Regions from separate parts of the Homo sapiens genome. Here region 2 is linked to region 1. The links are contacts of gene promoters, found by promoter capture Hi-C in blood cells and fetal thymus (Javierre and others, 2016). All regions are on one chromosome and are shown on one strand. Each heading gives the region's core, a stretch centred on a gene start or on the middle of the fragment in contact. The rest is flanking DNA. Distances are from core to core; before and after follow the strand shown. Region 1 holds the start of ZBTB20 (zinc finger and BTB domain containing 20). Region 2 holds the start of ZDHHC23 (zDHHC palmitoyltransferase 23).

Region 1 (6,432 bases), core at 2,817-5,316:
TTGCATTACAAATAAGTCTATTAAAGCAGAAAAGTGCCAATCAAATGCTTTTGAAAAAATGGTTTAAATAACAAAGCATTTTTTGCAGGTCTCTCCTCTTTAATGTCGCCTATAAACTAATTACAATAAATTTTCACCTTCTCTTGATAAAATCACAACTGAAACTAGGCATGGTGGCATGCACCTTAGTCCCAGCTACTAGGAGGCTGAGGCAGGAGGGCGGATCACTTGAGCCCAGGAGTTAAAGTACAGCCTGGGCAATAAAAGGAGATTCCCATCTCAAAAAACGAAAAAGAAACCCAGAACTGAAAAAGATTTAGGTACTTGATTTTTCAGATATGTTCCTAAAAACAAATCCCAACCAAAAATTAACAGATATTCTAGCTTTTGTTTTACCATACTTTGCTAACGGGATAATACTATGTAGGAATTTTATAGTAACTTTCAAGACACAAGATTTTTTTAATATAAAGCAACGTTTTATTAATTTCAAAGACATTATTAAAATCATGAAAAAAATCCCTATCTGTTAAAATTACCAACTGAAATATATGGAGAAAGTTTCATGACAATAACAAAAGGTACAAATAAGAAATAAACTAAGATCTTTCTTTCCTATCACTGCCAACTGGTAAACACCTTCCTCCTTCTCAAACTTCTGTAGGCTCTTTCAAACTGTAGTTCCTAAGACAAGAAAGCAGCTAGGTTTTAAAGTTTCATTAAAAAATCTCCTCCCCTAACAATCTAAAATGCACAAAGTGTGTGTGACATTAGAATGTAAGCTCCACAAGGGCAGGCAATTTTCTCTCTTGTTCATTATTACACTCCAAGTGTCTAGAACAATATGATAAATTTAACCATCCATTTCAGAAAAATATGATTATTTCAGAGACTAAAGCAAAGCCCATCAATCTCTACTTCCGTATTCCAAATGTTTTTGAAGAAGTCTCTGCTTGCCACTGATTCTGTGAAGTTATTCAAAATAATATGTAATTATTTTATAAATTATAGATCGCAGGAACTTAGCTGTAGCTTTTATTGCCCTTCTAAAACAACCTAATTATTCAGACTGGCCTTTTTTTCTAGAAAGTCCAATTTACCTAATTATTCAGACTAGCCTTTTTACTAGAAAGTCCAATTTGTCTAAAAAGTCTTCTGAAAACTTTCACTAATGCAACAAAAATGATTCGCTTAAAATATTTTTTCCTTAGATTTTCTTCCTATACCAAGTAGTCAAATTCTTATTAACAGGACAACAAGAGGAATTAGATGTTTGCGGGCCTCAAAAACTTTCTGATCCAATTATAGAAGAAACTGGCATCACATCAACTGGTAGTTCTAAACACCCCCTTCCCCAATTATAGCCCTCACATGAAAGTTTCTCTTTCCTCTAGTATTCCATTTAATCTCGTATTTTCTTTTAGTAGCTAGTCAATGTACACATGACCTATATGTGCATTTTCTTGGTTTTGTAGTAATCTTAAAACACGGGCCTAGATGGGTAAGCATAAAGACTTCTTCCTGGAAATGGATAAAATTTGACAATTTTTAACCTGATACTTTCTTTAGCTTGTTAAAATTAGGACCTCACCGTGAAAGGGCATATTGCTGTGGAGGCTGGTAGGCAGCAAACTTGTCACCTGATCTTCATATGCACAAGGCCTGTATTCCACTGGTCTATAAAATCTGAAATCATAAAACCAAAAATATCCAATTGCCCAACTCACTGAGCAGCTAATATAGTTCTAGAAATCTCACTTTTCTTCTTCTCACCTGTTTACTTCAACACCATGTGTCCCCAAACCTAAGGCCCTCCAAAATTGAGCTCCATAAAAATCAAAACCCCAATCTTGAAAATTAAGCCTTGAGTACTGAACAGTTACATCAGCAATTCCTCAAGGGCAATTTCAAAAGCTTTCCTGGGAGACTACTGGAAAGATGGCACAGGGATATCACCATGCACTATGTGTGCAACAACTTTGATATATTCTAAGAATCACAAAGAACAAAGGCATGAAAATCAATGTAATTTTTTTTCTTTCACTAGAAAAATACAGATTCTTCATTTTAAAGCAAAAAAGCAAAAAGTAGCCACATCTTGACTGGACAAACTTACAGTTGACCCTCAGTATCCATGGGAGATTGGTTCTGGGACCTCTCTAGGAAACCAAAATCCACAGATGCTCAAGTCCCTTACATAAAATAGTGTAGTATTTGCATTTAACCTAATCACATTCTCCCACATACTTTAAATCATCTCTAGGTTACTTATAACACCTAATACAAGTAAATGCCATGTATTAATAAATCGTTGTTACACTGTATTGTTTAGGGAATTGTGGCAAGAAAAAAACTATATATATTCTATTCCATCTATTCCCCCACACCCAAAATATTTTTGATCTGCAGCTGGTTAAATCCACAGATGCAGAACCCAGGCACAGGAAGGGCTGACTGTATGTGACCGGGAGTGGAGGGGGATCTATATAAATATTTCCACAAAATAGCAAAGGGTACTTGGGATTGGGAGCATGAACAGAAATGAAAACAAACCATTATAAATTTAAAGATGACTGGTTATCACTTAAATTTAGTGTCTACAGCTATTTATTTATAAAATGGTAATTGTGTTTTAAAACTTTCAATGGCAACAAGTTACAACAGTAACTTCAGAATAGCGTTCACTTGAAAACATTGGGTGAATGGCCTCTATAATTTTTTTAGCTGAAATGTATACACCGCCACGCAGTGAGGAAACTTGACTTTAGCACCCTTTTGGTATTTTTAATAGAAAAAACAGTGGAGAAGATTTTCACATGTCTAGAAAGGTAACATGTTCAACTTAGGTTTGGCCAATGCTGATTCTGAGGACAGTACTACACCCGCAAGCTTCCAAACTACTTCCTGATTCATTCAGATTTTCATTGGAGAGCTGTCATCCTGCTACTGACCTCATTCAACCCAGTTCGGAGTGAGAGATCAGCGGATTACCGCGCTAGGTACCGTAGCTGTACGCCATATTGTGTTTTTCGCTAATGTTTAGTTTGTGTGTGTGCCTAGCATATGTTTGTGCAAGTGTGTTTATCAATAGAACTTTTAGAAAATCCCTGCCTCCTGCCTCTTCAGCATCCTTAAAAAGGATAACAGCTGGGGGCGGGGGGTGGGGGGAGGACCCAAAAGCCACACAGACAGGAATACATTAAACAGTGTACGAGAGACGGCATTTGTTTTAAACTTTCAAGAACCTTCCAACCATTTTTATATCAGGAATCAAAAAGTGTTAACATGTTTTAATGTTTCCGAAGTGGCCCAAAGAAGAGAAAGAAGGAAAGGTGTGTCTTCCCTTCCCAAGCCCCCTCCTCTCTAGTCGTAGAAGCGAAGCAGGCGGGGGCCGGGAGCTCCGGCGTCTGGAGAGACATCCAGCGGCTGTGGGGCCAGGACACCTCCTGCCCCCCAGTTCTCTGAAGACGCTCCAGAGACCGCGAGAGCCACGGCAAGCGGGGGAGGGCGAGGAGGGAGGGGGCAGAAGACAAGCGGGCGCCTCTAGCAGCTCCTGAGCCCCGGCTAGTCCCCCTCAGCTCCTCTTCTTGGAAGCAGCGGCTCCAGGCGCAGGGAGTAGAGAGAAGAAGGCAGAAGACACGTTTCCAGCTGCGGGACGTCCCGCCCGCCCCGCCACCCTTCGACCCTCCCGCGCCTCCCTCCCACCTCCCCGCCGGGTCGGGCGAGGCAGCCGCCGGGCGCTAAGAAGGGCGCCGGGGGAGGGGGCGCGGGCGGGGCGGGGCGGGGCGGGGCGCGGGGGCGCGCGCGCTCATCCAGCTCAGGGCCCGCTGGCTCGCCGCTCTGTAACTCGCTCCCCCAACCCCACCCCGCTCCCCTCCTTCCCAGTCCCGCCGCCCCCCACTCCAGGCGCCTCGCAGACGCCTCATCCCCCTCGGCACGCACACACTCCTCCCTCTCTCCCGCCCGTCCCACAACAAATTAGAGTTTGTGGCATTACCTCCTCGCGCTCTTTAATCTTCTTTCCTCAACTCCTAAACTTCCCCCCGCCCCTACTTCTTCGGCAGAAGGCCCACATTGGACGCTTCACTCCGCGAACCCTCTATCTCTCCCCGCTATAGGATAGCTCTCACGCCAATCTTGGCTTCAGTGAGCCAATGAGAATGGGACGCCCCTCGTGAGGTTGCCGCCCATAAACAAAATGCACTCTTCCTTCTCCCCTCCGCCCCCCCGTCCCCGCCCCTTTCTTCCTCTTCCCTCATCTCTGTCACCTTCGATTGGGCTAAAAGAGGCCCAATCCGCTATCTCAAACATCCATTGGGACGCGGAAACTTCGCTCAGAGAAGTATTAACAGGCGATTGGTGGACAATCCTTCCACTTCGCCCACCCCCACAACCCCCTCCCCCCGCCGCACCTTCACCCTTTCTGAAAAGGTCAATCGTATCTCGTTGTTCAGTGATCCGGGAGGTGGAAGGCTATTGGTTCAGGGAGCCCGTCAGACCGGACTGGAGTGAGCCATGATTGGTCGACACAGGCGCAATCAGGTTAGGTTGCTTACTCCTCCGCTCCTCCCTCCTTTTCCTCCACGCCCCATCTCCCCCACCCCCTACTGCTTTTACTTTCTACGCATTTCTATTTCCTCCTTTATTTATTTATTTGTGATAAACTTAAATGACCCGGCGACGGAGGCGGTACTCTAGGAGAAGGCTGAGGATGACGAGCGGCGGCCTGGGGCCAATTGCCGAGAGGGCTGCGGGGTGAGGGGCAGCGGCGGTGGCCAGTGAGAGGCAGGTGTCTGGAGCGCGCTGGGCCTGTGGAGCCGGGATGCCCCAGCGGAGGCGGCGGTTACCCGCTGTCTGGCGCGGCGAGCTGCGCCGGGGGAGCCGCGGGAGCGGAGAGGGGGGTGTCGCTGTCTTGGACAGCTGAGGCAGCGGGATGGAGGCTGGATCCCGGGCGGTGGGTGGGAAAGCCGGAGGGAGGGTCTGGCTGGCGGCAGCGCGCAAGGCCGCACCGGGTCACGCTTGATTCCCGCGGAATGGGGCGCAGGTTGCCAGACCGGGTCCCCAGTGCTAGGGCTCAAGGAAGAATTTGTTCATGCAGAAGATTTAGAAAAATACTATGTAAAAGAGTTTGGAGTAAGCCTCCCTTAATATAAATGAGATTTATTATCCTGCCGGAAAAAGCAGATTATGTTTCTTATTACTGAACGCCTGAAGTACCAACGACTCAACCAGAGCCCACAGAATTCAATATCCTGGGTGGTAAAAGGAACAAATAAAGCAACACGGAAAATTAAGTGTGGTTCAAATGCTTCAATAAAATCTTCGTCCTCAACCATTTGTCATTCAACATAGCACTCCCCAGAGCCAAATTCTTACCAAATATTGGTCCAGTACTCAGGCATTGGAGAAAAAAATGAGGCTGAAGTCCAGCAGGAAGCCCAGGATAGATTCCTAAAAAGGATTTCTTACAAGGGCCAAGATGGGAGGGTTGGGGAAATCGCTTTTCACTATACAAAGAAAAAAAAATAATTACTGCCAAACTAAGTTGCACTTTTTTAGGCAGCTGATATAGCAATATTTTGTCACAAAATAAGAGACTTTATCAAAAATACCATGCATGCAAAGAATACACTGTACTTGGGATTTGAAAATGACATTGTTTCTAGGACATGGATTTGATGTATAATTTCCAATAGACTTAAGTCATCTGGATTTTAACCCAGGCTTCTTTGGAACGTACAGCATGCTTTCACATAAGATGCCTGGTTAGAGGTCTTTGACAGAAACTAAGCAAAATAAATTGGCCCTGGTGAAAAAAAAAAAAGTAAGGGCCTTGACCTCATTAATACTATTAAAGCTATCTTGTGAGGATTATATGTATGAGGCTTTGAGAATCCAGAAAATTACTGTGTGTGGTGTCAATTTTGAAGTCTGGGAATTGCTAGTGAGTTTGGAAGCCAAAACACTTTTAAACTTATATATAAATCTTAGCTAAAAAGTGATATTGACTGGGTGCAGCTGCTCACACCTGTAATCCCAACACTTTAGGAGGCCAAGACAGGCGGAACACTTGAGGTCAGGAATTTGAGAGTAGCGTGGCCAACCTGGTGAAACCCCGTCTCTACTAAAAAATACAAAAATTAGCCGGATGTGGTGGCGCACACCCGTAATCCTAGCCACTAGGGAGACTGAGGCAGGAAAAATCGCTGGAACTCGAGGCAGAGCTTGCAGTGAGGCGAGATCGCACCACTGTACTCCAGCCTGGTGACAGAGCAAGACCCTGTCTCACAAAAAAAGAAAAAAATGAAAAAGAAAAAAAGTGATTTAGTAAGAATAATAAGTATTCCATACAGAACAATCAGCAGCGCATGAGAAAAATCAGTAAAATTTAACATTGGCGTTCACACAGTTACTCCTATAACTTCTCCAAGG
Region 2 (6,107 bases), core at 3,205-5,704, 1.2 Mb before region 1:
TGGTCTTTTGAGATTGGCTTCTTTCACTTAGAAAAATGTAAAACTAATTTTTGCTAGTTAAAAACATCTCCTTGGCTGGGCACAGTGGCTCACACCTGTAATCCTAGCACTTTGGGAGGCCAAGGCAGGCAGATTGCCTGAGCTCAGAAGTTTGAGACCAGCCTGGGCAACTTGGCGAAACCCCGTCTCTACTAAAATACAAAAAATTAGCCAGGGGTGGTAGCAGGCGCCTGTAGTCCCAGCTACTCGGGAGGCTGAGGCAGGAGAATTGTTTGAACCCAGGAGGCGGAGGTTGCAGTGAGCTGAGATCATGCTACTGCACTCCAGCCTGGGTGAAAGAGCGAGACTCCGTCTCCAAAAAATAAAAATAAATAAAAAATAAAAATATCTCCTCTGCCTGACTTCCTCCTGGCCCAAATGCTCCAGGGCTCTGTGTTAGATTCTCTTTCCTTCTCTATTACTCTCCCTTTAGGTGATCTTATTCACACCCCTAACTTTAAATAACCACACGTTCCAATGACTCCTGTCTTAGTCCATTTGTGCTACTATAACAAAATCCTGGAGACTGGGTAATTTATAAAGAACAGAAATTTATTGCTCACAGTTCTGAGGCTGAGGAGTCCAAGATTAAGGTTCTGGCATGTTTGGTGTCCACCTGGCAGAAGGGACTGAAGGACAAAAAAGGGGACTATTTAGTTCCCTGAAGCTCTTTTATAAGAGCACTAATCCATTCATAGGAGCCGTCATGACCTAATCACCTCCCAGAGGCCACGTCTCTTCATGCTGTTGCATTGGGGATTCAGTTTGAACGTGAATTTTGAAGGGGACACAAATGTTCAGATAGCAGCAACTCCCAAGTCCGTATCTCTCACCTCGACCTGAGCTCTAGACTCATACAGTCACTTGCCTACTTGGCATCTTCACCTGGATGACTAACAGGATTCCCAAACTGATTATGTCCAAAACAGAAGTCAATTTTCCTCTAATCCAAAACCTAATTCTCTAGTGGGTCTCATTTCAGAAAATGATGCTACCATCCACCAGCTGCTCAAGTCAAAAACTTAATAAAATATCTAAGTATATATTTATGTATGTGATTATTTGTTTTATTAATAGTTCTGGATCCCTGACTAGTCTGTAAGCTCCATGAAGGACAGGACAGTGCCTATTTGGTTCTCCATTGTATATCCAGTGCTTAGAACACTGCCCAACATGTGATAGGCAAGCAACAAATATTTGTTGAATGAATACAAAAAAAGAGTAAGACATAATTCCTGCTCTTGAGTTGCACACAATTTTCTTAGAGAAATGAGATGTCCAGGTGTATTGTTAATGACAAAGATTACAAAATTCAGTGTCAAAGTGTTAAGTAGTAAGGATAATGCTTTGGGAGTTTATAGGCAGAATGACTGGGGAAAACTACATGAAGAGTGTGAATATGAGTAAGTTTTAGGTGAAGAACATGAGGATGAGAGCATGCAAAGGCACTGAAGCAAACTTGAGTTGTTTAGGGGATAGTGAGGAGACCACTGCAACTTCAGAAATCTTTTAGGAAAACGAGTCTGTCACTACGCTTAATTTGATTAATGGACCTATTGGGAGGTAGACTATGTAGCAGTAGGAAGAAGTACAATACTCCAGCAAATGGGAAGAACTCTGTAGCAATCATACTGATAGATACCCCAAAGAATCAGGTATTTTGTATTTAACGTTTTATTTGGGCATCAGTATAAACAAAACTATATTAAGTGTCACTGTAAATTTTGGGCATAAAAAACAGAAATTTTCAAATCTGATTAGAAAAATTAATCTGATTTTGAAAATTAACTTTGTTTACAGCTGAAGAGCTCACTCATTATGCTTCAGAAAACGTTTGATCTACTAAATAAGAATAAGACTGGCATGGCTGTTGAAAGCTAGTGATCTGAAGGACTAAAACCGCAGAGATACTTGGAACTTAAAGAAAATACCTGGAAGAAAACCAGACGAATGAAGGATTTTGGCATAGAACATTTCTATGTTTTTTCATTATTGAGATTTCTAATATGAACATTTCTTTCAGTAACATTTATTTGATAATTAGTTTCTGCTGGCCTTAATAATCCATCCTTTCACTTCTTATAGATATTTTTAAGCTGTGAATTTCTTCAGTGAACCATGAAATATATTATAGAACTGAATTTCTCTGATACAAAAAGAAAATGACACACCCTGAATTGAGTGGTATGGTCTCATTTCTACAGTGAAGTCTGATGCTTTGTTAGCACAGAATCCGTACATGTCCAATAGGTCGCTTTTGTAACTGAGATAAGACCAAGAGGATAAACAGGACAATATAAGAAGAAACCTCTATGTCATTACTGATTTTAAAGGTTCTGTTTTCAGGCATATAACATTTCCAGGTTTGTGTACTGTAAAGATTATAATGTCTTCATTTATTTAGCATGCAAATTTAATAGTCAAACTTTTTGAATCTGCATGTTGATGATGATTATCAGAAAGGGTCTTCTGCCATGCTGTATCTTTATGAAAGAAATAGTTGTTTTTTCTTAAGGTAACTATCAGAGGTGGGATTATCTTGCCTCCTCACTTAGAATACCAACAGTCAAAAGGAAGAACCATCCTCTGAGTTTTAAAAACCAGAAGGTTATGTTAAAATCTGGGCATTTAGTGACAGATCAAATGCATACTTGAACTAAGATTGGCTTCAGCTTAGCAGTCTTTCATGGTGGAAGTGACACATCTGGTTGAAAATAATTTGTGTATTTTCAGTAACCATGTATGGCTTCCTTCTTTATGTATGTGTGTGACTTGTTTTGATTGGTAAGTTATAAGCCAGACATAGATTTTAGCTCTTTAATAAAAACTTCAGGGGCACGTATGTCCCAGTACAAGTGTACTGACTATCAAGTTTTAACTCAGATGCAAGCTTTGGCTCTTTCATAAAAAGTTTTTATGCATATGTGTCTCCATACAAGTGGCTCATTAAAATAAGAACTTTGTAAACTGACTTAAAATCAGATATTTTTTCAAGAGTTAGGGAAAGTTGAAGTGTTTTACTGTTTTGTCTCTTGAGCCCTTTCTCTGGGGAAAAAATACATATCCATCTATCTATCTATATATAAACTGTGTATACATTCTTACTGTTTGAACAACTATTGCCTTTAATTAAATGTTTCATTTTTCTCCAGAGTCCCCAAAGCCACATGGCATTATTATAGTCATTTTTGAGATGCCTGTAGAGAATGAAAGTATTGACTCCGTTAGAGGGAAAATGGGTTTCTCTGGGTGAATTCCAACGAAGCATACCTAGGGGTAACAGTGAACCTACCTGGGTTTGTTTTGTTTTGGTAAGGATTTATGTAGTGTCTGGCTGTAAGCAAGAATGAGTGGATTATAAACTTGAAGATTTCTCTGTTAAAGTCACAAAAATGATCGACAAACAATATTTTTGTGATGTTTATTTAAACGTTGTATTTTATAACATACTTCAAGGAAGAGTATCGAAGTAAGTTGCTTTATAAATTAAGACTAAATTCGTATGGATGCAGAATTCAATTAATAAAATTTGAGCCTGTTACGTAAATTGAATATTAATAAAATTGAAAATTTCTGAGTTGTAGTTTTTCTTCTTTTTCTACTTAAAAACAAAACTAGAAAGCCTGCGGTAGTGAAACGTGTACATGGGCCCACACTCTTTAAAGAAATTTTGTGCAATAATAAAACCCAAAAAGGACTCTCATCTCAGGGCAGTTTCATCTCAAATACACAGACGACTGGAACAAAAGTACTAGCGAGGCCTGCTGGTCCAATGTAAAGGCTGCTAGCCAGAAATCATGAAACGAACAGGTTGCTAAATGAACAGATCCGGCAGCAGTGATGGGCCTTTAAGAGAAGGTCAGCGAAACTGGGGGAGGTACTTGGATAACATTTTGCGGTGGAAAGCTCCCTCACCGCCTGTTGCCGGAGTCTGAATGAAGGCTGGCGGCTCCACGGTCTCACGTAGTTCGGAAATCCTCCGGGTTCCCGGGTTTCCCGTATTTCCGTCTCCGCACCTCGTCCGCACCCCGGGGCTCCGGAGGCTGTCCCACCGGCGCGCCGCCCGCAGGCACCGGCGGCGCCCGGCTGCCGCCTCTGGGGCGGGGCGGGGCGTGGCGTGGCGGGGCAGGCCGGAGGTGCGGGACCCACCTCCTGCCCCTGCCTCCTGGACGCGCTCTCGGGAGCCGATTTTCCCCTTCCCGGCGCCAGGGCCGCGGGCCAGGAGGAGGAGCCTCGCCCGCGGGCACCGCGGGGAGGCGGGCGGCGCACGTGCGGACAGGCGGGGAACCCCGGCGCCGGGGGCGGGGCACCCGGAAGCGCGCGTGGACCTGGCGCACCGAGCCGGGCGGGCGGAGGGGCGGTTGGGACGGCGCGGGGAGGCGGGCGCGCCGCCCGGGCCGCGGCGGGCTGTGGTCACAGGTGGGCGGCTGCGGCGAGGGAGCGGCCGAGCGGAGCCCGGGTCCCGGAGACTCCTGCCGTCACGCCCGGGGCTCCGCGTAGCAGAGATCGGGAGACGCGTCTGTGCCTCCGGGGAAGCCGACCCATCTCCCCTCCGCCTCTTTGGCTGCAGTTGCACCTCCGGCCAGAGGGCAGGTAACTTCCCTTCCAAGGTCATTCTCCTGGCGGGGTGGTGCGCGAGGCCCGCCCACGTCCTCCGGATTGGCGGGGGCGGGAGAGGCGCACCCTGCAAGGGGCCCGACCAGTTGGGCTGGACCGCGACCCCTGAGCACTGCCAGGGAGCCTGGTGTGTCAGCCGCTGCTAGCGGGCATATGCTTCGCCTTTCCCTATAGCCCCGAGGCTGAGTTCCCACCAGCGCCCAGGCTTGGAGCGGAGACCGCTCGGCCCTCCCAGCCTGCACCCGCAGGTGAGCGCAACCGCCCGCGCCCCGGCTGTCCCGGACGCGTGGTCGGCTGTCGCCATAGGAACGGCTGGTGCCCAGACGGCGCCTGCCCAGGCTGGGAAGGGGCGGTGAAGGCAGCTCAGACCTCCAAGAACCCTGGAGCCCCCTGTGTGGCCAGGCGGAGCCACAGAAGCCTGATGAAAACGGGACCCCCTCCCCCTCTCTCTTCTCATTTTTGATTGCTCAGGCGTTGGAGGTTAAGCAGAGAGAGAGAGGCGTGGACCTATTTACGAGATGTAAGTTGTGTTCTTTCCACCTTTACCTTCTGAGGGCTTCTTACGCCTCATGGTGACAGGTGCAAATCATGACACAGAAGGGCAGTATGAAGCCTGTGAAGAAAAAGAAAACCGAAGAACCTGAATTGGAGCCCCTGTGCTGCTGCGAGTACATAGATCGGAATGGGGAAAAGAACCACGTGGCTACTTGTTTGTGTGATTGTCAAGATCTGGATGAAGGGTGTGATCGGTAAGAACAGAGCATTTCTTGACGCTGGCCCCATCACCCTTCTGAGAACTGCCATGTGTACTTTCAACCTAGCCACCCAGAATGCTAGAATTTGCTCTTGATTCTATTTCCAAGCATCTAAAATGAGAGTTGGCTTCTGTGTCAAGTGTGAGGATTTTAGAAAGATGGATTACGCAGTAGTGCACAGCTGTCTGTCTGCTCTGTTTTATAGGATATTATTTTTCGTTTAAAGAGAGATGAGGGAGAGAACAGGCAGTTTAAAGGGATAGTAGGCAAGTTAGTATAAAATAAAATGCAAGCCAGCAGAATCTGTAAGTTTAAAATGAACACAATAGTTCCAGAAAGTTCCTGCCTTCTCAGAGGTCTCAGCATTTAGAGACTGACTACTTGGGACTGGGTGGCACCTGACCACAGAGGGCCTTGTGGGTTGAAATTTCATTTTCCTGCTGTTAGTACTGGTCTTGCCCCTTGTTTCTGGGGAGGAACTCCAGCCAGAAGGCATGTATCTCCCCTGGATTCACAGTTTTCAGTGCGACCAGCAACACTCTTGATTGATCATACTGTATTTGGCTTTTATTTTCCAAGTGATGGAAATTACTATCCAAAAAGAGAATTTTTAACATCACTGAAAAAATTTGGTGTCGGACAGTGAATAATCTGGTTTTAATCCATTTTCTGAGTAATTATATATTTAAAAATCAC

What was found. The method cuts DNA at HindIII sites, captures the fragments that hold promoters and counts their contacts. A CHiCAGO score of 5 or more calls a contact.
Region 2: the fragment with the promoter of ZDHHC23 here is called in contact with the fragment with the promoter of ZBTB20 in region 1 in 1 of 17 cell types (neutrophils); the score reaches 5.3 in neutrophils.

What each region holds. Positions count from the first base shown.
Region 1 is chr3:115,143,222-115,149,653 of GRCh38, forward strand. It overlaps ZBTB20 (zinc finger and BTB domain containing 20), which reads right to left and starts at 4,067. Exons shown (of 12, transcript NM_001348800.3): 1 at 3,998-4,067. RefSeq lists enhancers at 2,743-2,852, 4,583-4,792 and silencers at 3,533-3,802, 4,113-4,282, 4,843-5,062. The HindIII fragment of the contact is 9,545 bases long and covers 2,888-6,432 here.
Region 2 is chr3:113,943,559-113,949,665 of GRCh38, forward strand. ZDHHC23 (zDHHC palmitoyltransferase 23) reads left to right here and starts at 4,455. Exons shown (of 5, transcript NM_001320466.2): 1 at 4,455-4,632; 2 at 5,128-5,405. The coding sequence starts at 5,245. GRAMD1C (GRAM domain containing 1C) reads left to right here. Exons shown (of 18, transcript NM_017577.5): 18 at 1,840-3,616. The coding sequence ends at 1,920. RefSeq lists an enhancer at 3,873-4,373 and silencers at 4,088-4,587, 4,938-5,037. The HindIII fragment of the contact is 7,070 bases long and covers 2,928-6,107 here.